3 separate regions of the Homo sapiens genome follow, and regions 2 and 3 are each linked to region 1. Evidence: promoter capture Hi-C in human tissues and cell types (Jung and others, 2019). All regions are on one chromosome and are shown on one strand. The core of a region is centred on a gene start or on the middle of the fragment in contact, and the rest is flanking DNA. Distances in the headings are between cores, read along the strand shown. Region 1 holds the start of HIF3A (hypoxia inducible factor 3 subunit alpha). Region 2 overlaps PRKD2 (protein kinase D2). Region 3 holds the start of NOVA2 (NOVA alternative splicing regulator 2).

The links. The method cuts DNA at HindIII sites, captures the fragments that hold promoters and counts their contacts. A contact is called where the count stands out against the background at its distance.
Region 2: a contact is called between a fragment that was not itself captured here and the fragment with the promoter of HIF3A in region 1, in 1 of the 25 tissues and cell types used here (dorsolateral prefrontal cortex).
Region 3: the fragment with the promoter of NOVA2 here is called in contact with the fragment with the promoter of HIF3A in region 1 in 1 of the 25 tissues and cell types used here (IMR-90 fibroblasts).

Annotation. Positions count from the first base shown.
Region 1 is chr19:46,295,031-46,299,119 of GRCh38, reverse strand. HIF3A (hypoxia inducible factor 3 subunit alpha) reads right to left here and starts at 2,078. Exons shown (of 15, transcript NM_152795.4): 1 at 2,018-2,078. The coding sequence starts at 2,043. The HindIII fragment of the contact is 13,814 bases long and covers 1-4,089 here.
Region 2 is chr19:46,704,511-46,708,599 of GRCh38, reverse strand. PRKD2 (protein kinase D2) reads left to right here. Exons shown (of 18, transcript NM_016457.5): 4 at 3,951-4,089. Among named protein-coding and RNA genes, the nearest start is that of MIR320E, 2.8 kb to the left of the region's middle. The HindIII fragment of the contact is 4,012 bases long and covers 1-3,859 here.
Region 3 is chr19:45,971,935-45,976,023 of GRCh38, reverse strand. NOVA2 (NOVA alternative splicing regulator 2) reads left to right here and starts at 2,159. Exons shown (of 4, transcript NM_002516.4): 1 at 2,159-2,757. The coding sequence starts at 2,673. RefSeq lists a silencer at 1,834-1,993. The HindIII fragment of the contact is 35,305 bases long and covers 1-4,089 here.

The DNA.
Region 1 (4,089 bases), core at 829-3,328:
CAAGAACAGGGGGTGGGGCCAGGGCCTGGCGGGCTCAGGGTGAGGCCTGAGAATGGGGGTTGGGGCCCAGTGCCCCCCTCCAACCAGGAAGGAGAGAAGTTCACCTCTTCCCTGCCCTGAAGAATTTGCCACCCATGAGGAAGGCATAATAAAAGCAGGCAGTCCCTGCCCACATTCAGGGCTACTTCTGGGCTTTTCTATTCTGACACCCAGCTGGGTATTGGGGGGGGGCGTCTTACGAAAAGCACAGAGGATTTGGTGGGTGGGGGTTTAGGTTGTAGCTGGGCAAGGATGCCTTTTGGCATTGCAGAGAGGTGTCCTGAGAGACCAGAGGCAGGGTTTGGGTTTGCAAAGGGACTTGGCATGGGGGTCTGGGGGAGTCTCTCTGCCCCCCGACTCTGCCTGTTCTCAAGGACATGGTAATCTGGTAGGGTGCTGGTCCCCAAAATCCTATCTTCTCCGGGAATACTACCTCACTGGGCACTCTGGGCTGCAAGCCGTACCCACCAGGGACTTCCCAAGAGCATCCTTGGCCACAGTGGGATGGCAGCCAGCCCCAGCTAGAGGAAGGGAAGGGGGAAAGGAGGTGTTGGGGGCCCACTCACCATCGCCCAGGCCCCCGTTGGCTGAAGGGCCATCCAGGGGGTGCAGGAGGGGATGCGGTGCAGCCAGGACCCGGGTGCGAGTTACGAGTGGGTGCGCACGGCGGTGAGATGACTCCACAGGAAAGGGCCGGCCTTGGGTGGGGAGGGGGGGCACCCGAGCTCAGCCAAGAGGGGCCCCCACCCAGCCAGGAGGGGGCGCTGAGAGGGGCGGAACGACAGCTGGCCCAAAAGGGGTGGGATAGAGTTCCTTGTTAGGCCCAGAGCCAGGGCCTGGAATAGAGTAGGGGACAGGGGAGAGGATGGGGGCGGTTAGAAACATGGGGTGTGCATGGATCCAATCAGGCCTGAGAAGCCAGGGAGGAGGGAAGGGGGTGAGGCTTACTGGGTGCCTCACATTGGACAGGGAAAGCTGAGGACCTAGAACATTTTCCAGGGTCCCATGGGAACATGGCCAGATAAAACCCCCCGGCAGCGGCCCCAGGGCACAGGTTCCCCTGTGTTCCAGCAGAGCTGCACCTGCTGGGCAAGTGAACCCAGAAACCCACCCTCTGCCCGGGATGACCCCATCTGAGTACTGCGGCAGGGGGCGTTCCCATCACAGCCTGCAGGCTCACAGCACCCTGCCATGGAGTCTCCCCAAAATAAAGCTTGGATGAGGCTCCCCTGTCTCTCAGGATGGGGGTGCAGGGGTGAGATGAGGGGCTGGACTTTGGGAAGTGGGTCCAGCTTGTTTCCCTGTTATTTAAGGGGGTGACTCTGGCTTTTGAAAGGATACAAAAAGTCTCTTGGGAAGGGTCCCAGACGGCTTCTGAAAGGGGCTCCCCTCTGCCCATTTCTAGGGAAACCCAATGTTTAGGAGACTGTGTCAGGAAGCATACTATTAGAGGAGATCTCTCCTCTCTTGAACTCAGGAGCTGAATGCCATTCCAAGGGACTCCCTATATGTGGGAAGGCTCCATTTAGGGGTATCCCATATCACCTAGGATCCCAGGCACCTGGTGGCAAAGAATACCCTCAATTTTGGGGGGTTCAGAGGCCAGAGGGATCAATATGTGGAGGGCGAATATCTCCCGCAGAAGCCTGGGGACTGCTCAAATGCAATCACCCCTAATTTATCAGGAATCCCAAGTTCCACCCCCAACCAGGAGGGTAAATGAGCCTTGGGTAGCGAGAAATCGGGAACCCCGAAGCCGCTCTTGGCCAGAGGGGCGGGGCAGCCAGAGACGTAGGGAATCCCCCACCCCTGCAGTCCCTAAGGGTGGAGAGTGCGGTGGGGATGTGCCTCCAACTGCGCGCCCCGGGGCGTTCTTGGCTCGCACCCGCGAACCCCACCCCCCCCAACAATCCAGCTCAGGGGTCTCCAGGAGGAGAGCCCCCCAATTCCCAGAACTCCTGCCCCCGAACTTCAGTACCTTGCGCGCTGCAGCCCCAGCGCCATGGCTCGCCAGTCGCCGCTCCGGAGCCCTCGGAGGCCCCTAGCCCCCTCCCCGGCCTTGCGAGCCCCCTCCCCAGCTCCTCCCCACGCCGCGCGGTTGGCTGTGCCACGCCAGGCCTGAGGCTCTGATTGGGCAACGGTATGTCACTCCTGAAAAGGAGGCGGAACCAGAGGGAAAGACTTGGAAAGGCAAGGGGGGGATACCGTGTAATACACACCCCCCAACCACGCCCCTCGCCGCGGACTTCCTCGGCAGTGTATCCCGCACCGTCGGCTGAACGCGCCTTCTCTAGTCCAGCCTCTGAAGTGCCAACGCCAGTACTCTTCTGAACCCACTCAGTTCACTCTGCTCTCTGGACCCCAGTCCCCAGCCTCTAACCCCCACCTCTTCTCACCTTTCCATTTCCTAACCCCAGTTGAGCCCCTCTGACCTCCAATCCCACCCCTTCCAAACCCCTAGCCCTGCCTTCTCTATCCCTTCTAAGGTATTCACAGAGTACCCCACATCTCCTCCCCACCCCCCAACTCCCAACCCCACCCCAGTTCCACAATCCTTGGCCCTCTGGCACCTACCCTTCTCTCTCTCTCCCCAGCCCCTCCCTGCCACCCCAGTCCCATACCCCACTTCGCCCCCATTCCTCCAGTCTGCACCCTCTGCACCCCAGCTTACCTTCCCTACCCCCTCTACTCCACCCTAACCTCTTGGCCTCTCTGACTCCCTTTTCAGGTTCCCATTGATGAATAATTAAGCTTATGTCAAGTAAATATGTTTTAACTCAATCACACCTACTTCAAAAAAGAGCCGAGAAATGTATTTTTTTTTAACTAGTCGACTATGAAGGGAGAAGTACAAAGGTACCAAGCAAGGGTGAAAGCATTACAGTTGGATAAGGAACAGAGTGTGTGTGTGTGTGTGTGTGTGTGTGTGTGTTGGACCACTATTCTGGATTTGGTTGGCAGGGAAGAGGATACTACAGCAGAAGTGGCCTTGTTGAACCTTGAACTTGCCAGGCAAGTTGCTCACCTTAGGGCCTTTGCACTTGCTGTTCCCACAGCTTAGCACACTCTTCCTCCAGGAATCCACACGGCTCCCCGGCTCACGCCAGTTCCCCACTCTGTTTTCTTTTGGGAAACCACTTCTCTGTCCTCTTCATCTATTTAATTTGAATAGGGCTTGGCCACTGCTCTGCCTTCACCAGCTCCAGGGATGGACATAGGATCCAAACCTGGCTAATCAGTTGAGTCTGCTTCCCTGGCCACAGTGATTGGTTCAGGGAAGGCATGTTACCTAATTTAGCCCAATGAGAATCAACCCTGAGACATTTGCTGAAACCATTAGGAAAGAGGATTTTCTATGTCTGCTGGAATTGCTGGGCAGATGGAGCAGATGGGGCTCACACTGCCACAAAGAGAGGAGAGGCTTTATGAGATGAGGTTCAGTGCAAAAGAGATTGTGCAGAAATGAACGATTGTGAAAGGCAGTTTTGACACCAGCACTTGAGTGCCTGGATCCAGCCATACCTGAACTCCAGTTTAATTCTTGGATTTTTCAAATGAAACCCACAATGGGCTTTTTTTTTTTTTTTTTTTTTTTTTTGCTGTTGCTTTTGTCAAATATTGCTTCATTCACTATTGCCTTATTTGCTTTGTGCTTAGATTCGTTTGAATGGATTTTAGATACTTGCACCCAAAAGAATCTTGATAGAGAAATCAGCTTTCAACCCTCAGTGTAGAGGCAGGTGGGATGTTAGAAAAGGAGCAGTCTGAATTATAAAGGGGGGCCGGCCATGGTGGCTCACGACTGTAATCCCAGCACTTTGGGAGGCTGAGGCGGGCAGATCACCTGAGGTCAGGAGTTCAAGACCAGCCTGGCCAACATGGTGAAACCCCATCTCTACTAAAAATACAAAAATTAGCCGGGTGTGGTGGCACACCCTTGTAATCCCAGCTACTCGGGAGGCTGAGGCAGGAGAATCGCTTGAACCCAGGAGGCAGAGGTTGCAGTGAGCCAAGATCATGCCATTGCACTCCAGCCTGAGTGACAGAGTA
Region 2 (4,089 bases), core at 604-3,103, 410 kb before region 1:
GTGGCTCATGCCTATAATCCCAGCACTTTGGGAGGATGGTGGATCGCTTGAGTCCAGGAGTTCGAGACCAGCATGGGCAACATGGTGAAACCCCGTCTCTAAAAAATACAACAAATTGGCCAGGCATGGTGGTGCATACCTCTAGTCCTAGCTACTCAAGAGGCTGAGGTGGGAGGATCACCTGGGCCTGGGAGGTTGAGGCTGCGGTGAGCCGTGATCATGCCACTGCACTCCAGCCTAGGTGACAGAACACGATTGTCTCAGAAAAAAAAAAAAAAAAAAAAAAAAAAAGGTCACCAGTCCCATTGGATTACAGCCACACTCTTTCGGCCTCAATTAACCTTAATTACCTCCATAAAGGCACCGTCTCCAGATATAGTTGCATTGGAGGTTAGGGTTTCAACATAAGAATTTTGGGGGAGACACAGACATTTAGTCCATAACAGCACCCATACATATCTCCTTAAATCATAGTTTAAAAATATACAGGTTTTCTTTTTTGGAGACAGCGTCTCAGTCTGTCACCCAGGCTGGAGTGCAGTGGCGCGATCTCAGCTCACCACAACCTCCACTTCCCAGGCTCAAGCGATTCTCCTGCCTCAGCCTACCGAGTAGCTGGGATTACAGGCACACACCATTACTGCCCGGCTAATTTTTGTATTTCTAGTAGAGACGGGGTTTCACCACGTTGGCCAGGCTGGTCTTGAACTCCTGACCTCAAATGATCCACCCGCCTTGCCCTCCCACAGTGCTGGGATTACAGGCATGAGCCACCGCGCCTGTCCAAAACATACAGTTCTTTAAGCCAAGATGTCTCAAGGTTCAGCCCAAGTGTCAAGATCTATATAGGTCCTCTGTCCCTGTTATTCATGCTTCTGAGTGAGAATGTTGAAATCGGGGCTCTGCCTACAGATGAAGGCCATGTACCTGCATTGGCTATGAGGACAGATGACAGGTGAGGACCATCCATTCTGTGATGAGACCCTGTGGCTCCATTGTTTTGTGTGTGTGAGACAGAGTCTTGCTCCGTCACCCAGGATGGAGTGCAGTGGCGTGGTCTTGGCTCACTGCAACCTCTACCTCCTGGGTTCAAGCAATTCTCCTGCTTCAGCCTCCCAAATAGCTGGGATTACAGGTGCGCACCACCACTCCTGGCTAATTTTTGTATTTTTAGTAGACGGGGTTTCACCATGTTGGCCAGGCTGGTTTCAAGTAATCCACCCTCCTCAGCCTCCCCAAGTGCTGGGATTACAGACATGAGCCACTGCGCTGGGCCCCATGCGCCTCCATTTTTGTATGGTGTGCCCTGCAATTAGAGCCATATTCTTGGATGTTCCATTGGGTATTAGGTCTGAGACAGCATCTCTAGCTCCGTGGGTGCCACGCTTGTACAGAAATCCTGATTCTGGGCCAGGCACGGTGGCTCACACCTGTAATCCCAGCACTTTGGGAGGCCAAGGCGGGCGGATCATGAGGTCAGGAGTTAGAGACCAGCCTGGCCAACATGGTGAAACCCTGTCTCTACTAAAACTAGAAAAATTAGCTGGGTGTGGTGGCGGGTACCTATAATCCCAGCTACTCGGGAGGCTGAGGCAGGAGAATCATTTGAACCTGAGGGGGTGGAGGTTGCAGTGAGCCGAGATCATACCATTGCACTCCAGCCTGGGTGACAGGGTGAGACTCCGTCTCAAAAAAAAAAAAAAAAAAGAAATCCAGTTTCTCCAATATCCTGTGTTCCAGATCATCATGCAGTCCAAAGTATACTTGTATTATTTAAGGACTCTAGGCCTGCAGATACTGATTCAGTGCATTAAAAGCTCTTATAAATATTGCCATCGTCCACACACCATATCCAACTCTTGAGGTCTCAGCATATGCAGTCTTTGTCATGATACAGCCCTGGTGTCATCAAGTCCTAATGGGTTATCAGCACAGACTTCACTGGTGCAGCATCACAGATGATGGTCCCAGTTCCTATGGTGGCAAGAGAACCCCAAATGACTACATTCCGACAGGAGTTTAACTCTATCCTGAGACTCATTCTGAGAGTTATAGATAAGATTCTGAAATTCTGGAAGGCACATGAGTGATTCAAGGCCAACACTGGGAAATGGTTCCTGTGTGCAAAGACCATTTGCCCTGCTGAAGCTCTTCTTGCAGGGCCAACACCGTTCTCCAAGCTTGCCTCCGTGATTACAGCATGCAGCCAAGACAGTGCCTACAATGAGGAGGTGTGGAACTGGAAAGCCTGGAGCAGGCGGGTACCAGAAGGGCTCCCAAAGGCTGGAGGAACATTCTTCACTCCAGAATAGAAAGCGATCCTGGAATCGTTTGGAATCACTGGAGATGTATTAGAGCACACATACAGAACGTCCAGTGGGAAACAGGGAGTTGAGCTGATTTCTCCATGGATGAGGATTTTAAAAGATAAAATAGGCAGGGCACAGTGGCTCATGCCTGTAATCCCAACACTTTGGGAGGCTGAGGTGGGAGGATCACTTGAGCCCAGGAGTTCAAGACCAGCCTGGGCAATGTAGCGAGACCCCATCTCTACAAAAAAATAAAAATAAAAAAATTATCTGGGCATGGTAGTGTATGTCTGTGGTTCTGGCTACTCAGGAGGCTGAGGCAGGAGGATTACTTGAGCCCAGGAGTTGAAGGCTGCAGTGAGCTATGATTGTGCCATTGTGCTTCAGCCGGGGGTACAGGGAGATCCTGTCTCTACAAAATAAAATAAGACAATAAGAAGTCATACTTCTGCCTAGTATGGTACAATGGACCTGAGTACAACTGAGAACTCTTTTTTTTTTTTTGAAACTGAGTCTCGCTGTATTGCCCAGGCTGGAGTGCAGTGGCGTGATCTCAGCTCACTACAACCTCTGCCTCCTGGGTTCAAGTGATTCTCCTGCCTCAGCCTCCGGAGTAGCTGGGATTACAGGCGTGTGCCACTACACCCGGCTAAGTTTTGTATTTTTAGTAGAGATGGGGTTTTGCCATGTTGGCCAGTGTGGTCTCAAACTCCTGACCTCAAGTGATCCGCCGGCCTTGGCCTCCCAAAGTGCTGGGATTACAGGCGTGAGCCACCATGCGTGGCCCACACTACTAAGATTTAATCACACTACTTAGGGATTGCCTGGATTCCAGGTCTACAGAAAAGAGAAAGTGGGGTACAGGGGGTGAGCAGACCTGGAGGGATAGTGACCTTAGGGGTGGGGGTGAGGAGAGGCATTTTCTTTTGGAAAGTTGGGGTTGGGGAAAGAGGGGGAACCAAAGGGGCCTCAGAAAAAGGAAGGTCAGGGTTAGAAGGGGGAACAGGTGTCTCTAGGGAGATGGACAGGAGTTTTGGGGAGGACTAGAAGGAGGTGCTTACCATAGAGGACTGGGGCTGGGTCAGAGCTTTGGCGGGGACTTTTGAGGCATCCATTGTTGCAGTGGGAAAAGGTGGGGTGTGAGGCGCGTTCAGGGCCTGGGGGGCAGATGGGGTGATGTCGGGGCTACAAGCTGGAACTAGGGGTGGAGCTTTGGAGGGAACCTTTGAGGTATCCCTTGTTGGAGTGGGAAAATTTTGGGTGTGAGGCGTGTTCAGGGTCTGGGGGACAGATGGGGTGATGGCAGGGCTACAAGCTGAAACTGGGGACAGAGCTTTGGGGGGAGCCTTTGAGGTGTCCCTTGTTGGAGTGAGAAAAGGGGTGTGGGTGTGTTCAGGGTCTGGGGGACAGATGGGGTGATGGTGGGGCTACAAGCTGGAACTTGGGGCAGAACTCTAAGGAGGGGTGGGCCTGAAGGGGCTGATACACTTACGGATAGTAGTGCCTTTTGGAGGAGATCGTGCTGGCGGGGGGTGATGGGACAGGACCAGGTGAGAGATTGGGTGGAAAGGGCACAACTTCTCAAGAAGAGACCTAGGAGGGGCAGACGCCATGTCTCTTACTCTCTGGCGCCCCCTGCAGGCTGCGGGCTGAACTACCACAAGCGCTGTGCCTTCAGCATCCCCAACAACTGTAGTGGGGCCCGCAAACGGCGCCTGTCATCCACGTCTCTGGCCAGTGGCCACTCGGTGCGCCTCGGCACCTCCGAGTCCCTGCCCTG
Region 3 (4,089 bases), core at 910-3,409, 320 kb after region 1:
ATGTCCTGTGGCTTTGATCATGGATTTGTAACTTTTCCGAGTGTGTGGGGCCAAGTGTGGAGCTGTCGTGGCTCTGAATGTGTGTACCTGGGACATACCTGCATATTAGATGTGTGTCTGTCTATTTGTGTATGAGAGCCTGTGTTGTGGCCTTGCGTCTGCATGACTGAATGTGCATTACAGATGAGTGTGTATGTGTGTGTACGTGTGCCTATCCCCTATAAGTGTGTCTGTGTGACTGTGTTGAGACCGTGCACCTGCAGCAGGGCCAGTGTGACTCTGTGTGTGTCACACAGAGGGGGAAACTTCACAGCTAATTTCATGGATGTTGGGATATGTACCTGTGTGGTGTGAGGCTATTTGACTCAAAGGGTCTAAGGTGTGGTACTCAGCCTGACCCCCGTATCTCCCTATATCCGTCTTGCCTCTTCCCCATCTCCATGGCAACCAGCTCCTCAGCTCCCTCCAGGAAGATGGAGGGGGAGGATCCAGACTGCAGTGGACCACAGCCCCCTCCCATCCCCCTTGGCTCTGGGGACAATGGGGGGGAGGGGACAGATGGGTAGCCACCCCATCCACCCCAGGCCATCTGCTACCCTCCCCCATCCTGGGGACCTGAGAGCATGGCAAGGGAGGAGCAGGGGGGGGTTGGAGCCGATCCCCCTGCCGCAGATCACGCAGTGGCCACAATTACCTGCATCCAGACCCCTTCTGAGCCTAATCTTGCCTCTGACCAACCCAGGAAGGAAAGATTCCTTGGAGGTTAAGAACCCAGGGAGAAGGAAATTCTTGCATCAAGGAACACAGAATAATAGCAATGATCCATTCCAAAGAAAGGCACCCTAGTTCCAATGACTTTGGGCTCTGAAATTGGACTTGTCCTGCGTTCTCATCCCAGTTTCTCTCTCTCAAGCTGTGTGCCCTTGAAGAAGCCACCCTCAATGTTCCCAGGCCTCCACTTTGTCATCTGAAAACAAATTTTTCTTAATGACATGAGTAGTAATACTGTACAAGGGCCAAGGCTGTTTTGTTCTCTATTGTATCGCAGCATCAGGGACAGTGCCTGGCACTTAGTAGGTAGGCCCTGAGTGCTGTTGTTTGAATGGAGAGCCAGTTGTGCCCCAGGGCAGGTGCTGCAGGCTGCAACTCCAGCTCAGTGAATTCAATCCTCTGAGCCCTTTCAGCATCACGGTGTTGATTCTTCAAAGGATGGATGAAAGATTTGAAGGGGAATTTCCCAGCTGAAAGGATTGAAAAAGAGTGAAGTGAAATTTCTTTCTCTTTCTTTCTTTCTTTTTTTTTTTTTTTTTTGAGACAAGGTTTTGCTCTGTCTCCCAGGCTCGAATCTAGTTGCTTGATCATGGCTGACTGCAGCCTCAAACTCCTGTGCTCAAGAGATCCTCCCACCTCAGACTCCAGAGTACCTGGGGCTACAAGCATGTGCTACCACGCCTGGCTAATTAAAAAAAAAATTTTTTTTTTGTAGAGATGGGGTCTCACAATATTGTTGCCCAGCTCGTCTCAAACTCCTGGGCTCAAGTGATTCTTCCGCCTCGGCCTCCCAAAGTGCTGGGATGACAGGCATGAACCACCGCGCCTAGTCGAAATTTCTTGTCTTGACCAAGTGAAGTCAAAGTAAGCTCCTAAGGCTGTTTCCTCATCTGTAAAATAGGGATAATAAGCGTAACTCACAGAGCTGGTCGCTCTGGGGAGTAAATGCGATAACGTCTGTGACGTGCTTGCTTGGAACCGGACCTGGCACACAGTAAGTGCTCAATAAACGTTCATTCAAGGTGAGGAGTGGGGACGGCTTGGAGGAGCCCGGGGTCCTCCCAGCAGCCTGGGGGAGTCGGGTCCAGCTCTCTGCCGCCGGGAGGGGCGTGGCCAACCCAGAGGGACGTGGTCCAGGCTTCAAGGCTGGACCAATGGGGGCGCCGAAGGGCGTGGCCCTACCCGGCATGGGCGTGACCTCGTTGGGTGGGAGGGGCCAGGCGCTGTGGGAGCCTCCGGGAAGAAGATGCTCGGGCCAGCAGCCACCGCCAGCCCCGTCGCCGCCGCCGCCCGCGCCCGCCGCCCCCCGGGCCCCCACTAGCGGCCGCCTCCGCCTCCCACTCCGGCCACGCTCCTCCGGCCCCCCACCCCGAGCAGGGTCTGGGGGGCTCGGCCCTCTTGCCCCAGGGAGCCAAGAAGAAGCGGGGAGTCCCGTCCCCCCAGTGGCGCGTCCAGTCCCCAGCCTCTGTGGTCCCAGGAGAGACCCCACCTCTCAGTTCTTTCCCGGCCCTATCGGAGACCCCCCTCGGCCCTGCCATCCTGCTCACGGCCGCTCTCCAGGCTCTGTCAGCCCCCCGAGAACCGGCTCCCCCCTACCCCCGCCTTCCCTCTCCGGGGCTCCCCCTCCCCCATCCCTCCACCGCCCCCTCCCCCTCCCACCTCCCCTCCCCTCCCCCTCCCCCGCCCCCCGCCCCCCGCCCCCCCCCACCATGAGGATGATGGCCGCCGGCGCGGTGCACGGCCTCTTCACGGCCTCCGCGGCCCCGCAGCCGCCGCCGCCCCCGCCGCCGCCGCCGCCGCAACCCCAGCCTCCCCAGCAGCCGTCGCCGCCGCCACAGCAGCCGCCGCCGCCGCCGCCGCAGCCGCCGCAGCAGCAGCAGCCGCCGCCCCAGGCCCCCCCCATGGAGCCCGAGGCCCCGGATTCCCGCAAGAGGCCCCTCGAAACGCCCCCCGAGGTGGTCTGCACCAAGCGCAGCAACACGGGAGGTGAGAAAGGGCTGCGGCTCGGGGCGGGGGAGCGGGCAGGGGGCCTCGCCTTTCTCCATCCTTTCCCCCCCTCCCGTGGCAGGTGCAAGGGCTCTGGGGAGGGGAGAGACACCCCTCCCCGAGGCGGGGGACAGAGCGGGGAGTTGAGGAGGGGGCTGGACCCCCTCCTCCTCTCGCTGAGGCCCGGGGCTGGGAGCTTTGTCTGCGAGGAGAGGGGTGGGGGGGAGGGGGTGATAAGTGTCCTTGGGGGGCGCAGAAGATGGGGGGCGTGGGAGCCTCAGGGCAGGTGTCTGTGTGTCCTTGAGGGGTGTGTGATGTGACCCTTTCGGAGCAGGGGTGTTCCCCGAGCTCGCGTGTCCTGGCTGGGGGAGGGGAAGGAGTAGAGGCCTGTGGACCGGGAGCTTCCCAGCCTCCCTCCCTGGGGATGTCCTGAACAAGGGTTGTCCCAGATGGAGGCTTGTGTGGCCCTGGCCGGATCGTGCGTGGGGACAGGCTGGGTAGGTGTGTGGGGTGAAATGGAGGAAATGGTGGGTGTGTAAAGCTAGGTGGGAGAATGTGAGGCTAGGACAGGTGTGTATGTGTGTGCGTGTGTGTGTATGTGTGCCCTCTACAGCCTGGATGTGTGACATTAGGGATCAGGAATATGACAGCATAGGGGGGTGTATGAGAAAGACAGGGGACAGGGGCTGGGCTCCATGTTTGAGACCCTCCAGCGGGTACGTGTGACAAGGAAAGGTGTGTGCTTGTCACCCCCAAGGGGGCTGTGGCAGAGTGTGACACATGAGAGGGTGTGTGTGACATGCAAGGAGGTGTGTGGGGGACACCGAATGGGCTGGCTCTGGGTGTCAGCCAGAAGAGGCCGTGTAGATCAGAGGAAAGGGGTCCAGTGTGTGTGACACAGGCGTGGCTGGTGAGGGGATGTGACAAGAAAAGGGTGTGGGTGTGACTCCAGAGAGGCTGTGGCTGGGTGTGACACATGGAGGTGTGCAACAGTGACATCAGAGGGGGTGTGTGCAACAGGGAAGGTGGGTGTATGACGAGGGAGAGGCTGGGGCTTGTGGGTGAAACGCACGAGGGTGTGTAAAAAGGAGAAGGAAGGATGGGTCCCCATGTGACAGGGCACGTGTGCATATGACACCCAGCTGTGTGTATGGGTGTAACAAGGAGAGGTGTGTGTGTGAAATGGCTGAGTGTGTGACACCAGAGATATGGGGATGATTCTGCATGTGTTTGACAAGGGAGGCTGTGTGTGTGTCCGTGTGTATTGGAGATTGCCGAATGTTTGACACCACGGAAGGCAGTGTGAGGGAAGAGAGGGGCTCTCCCTGGGTG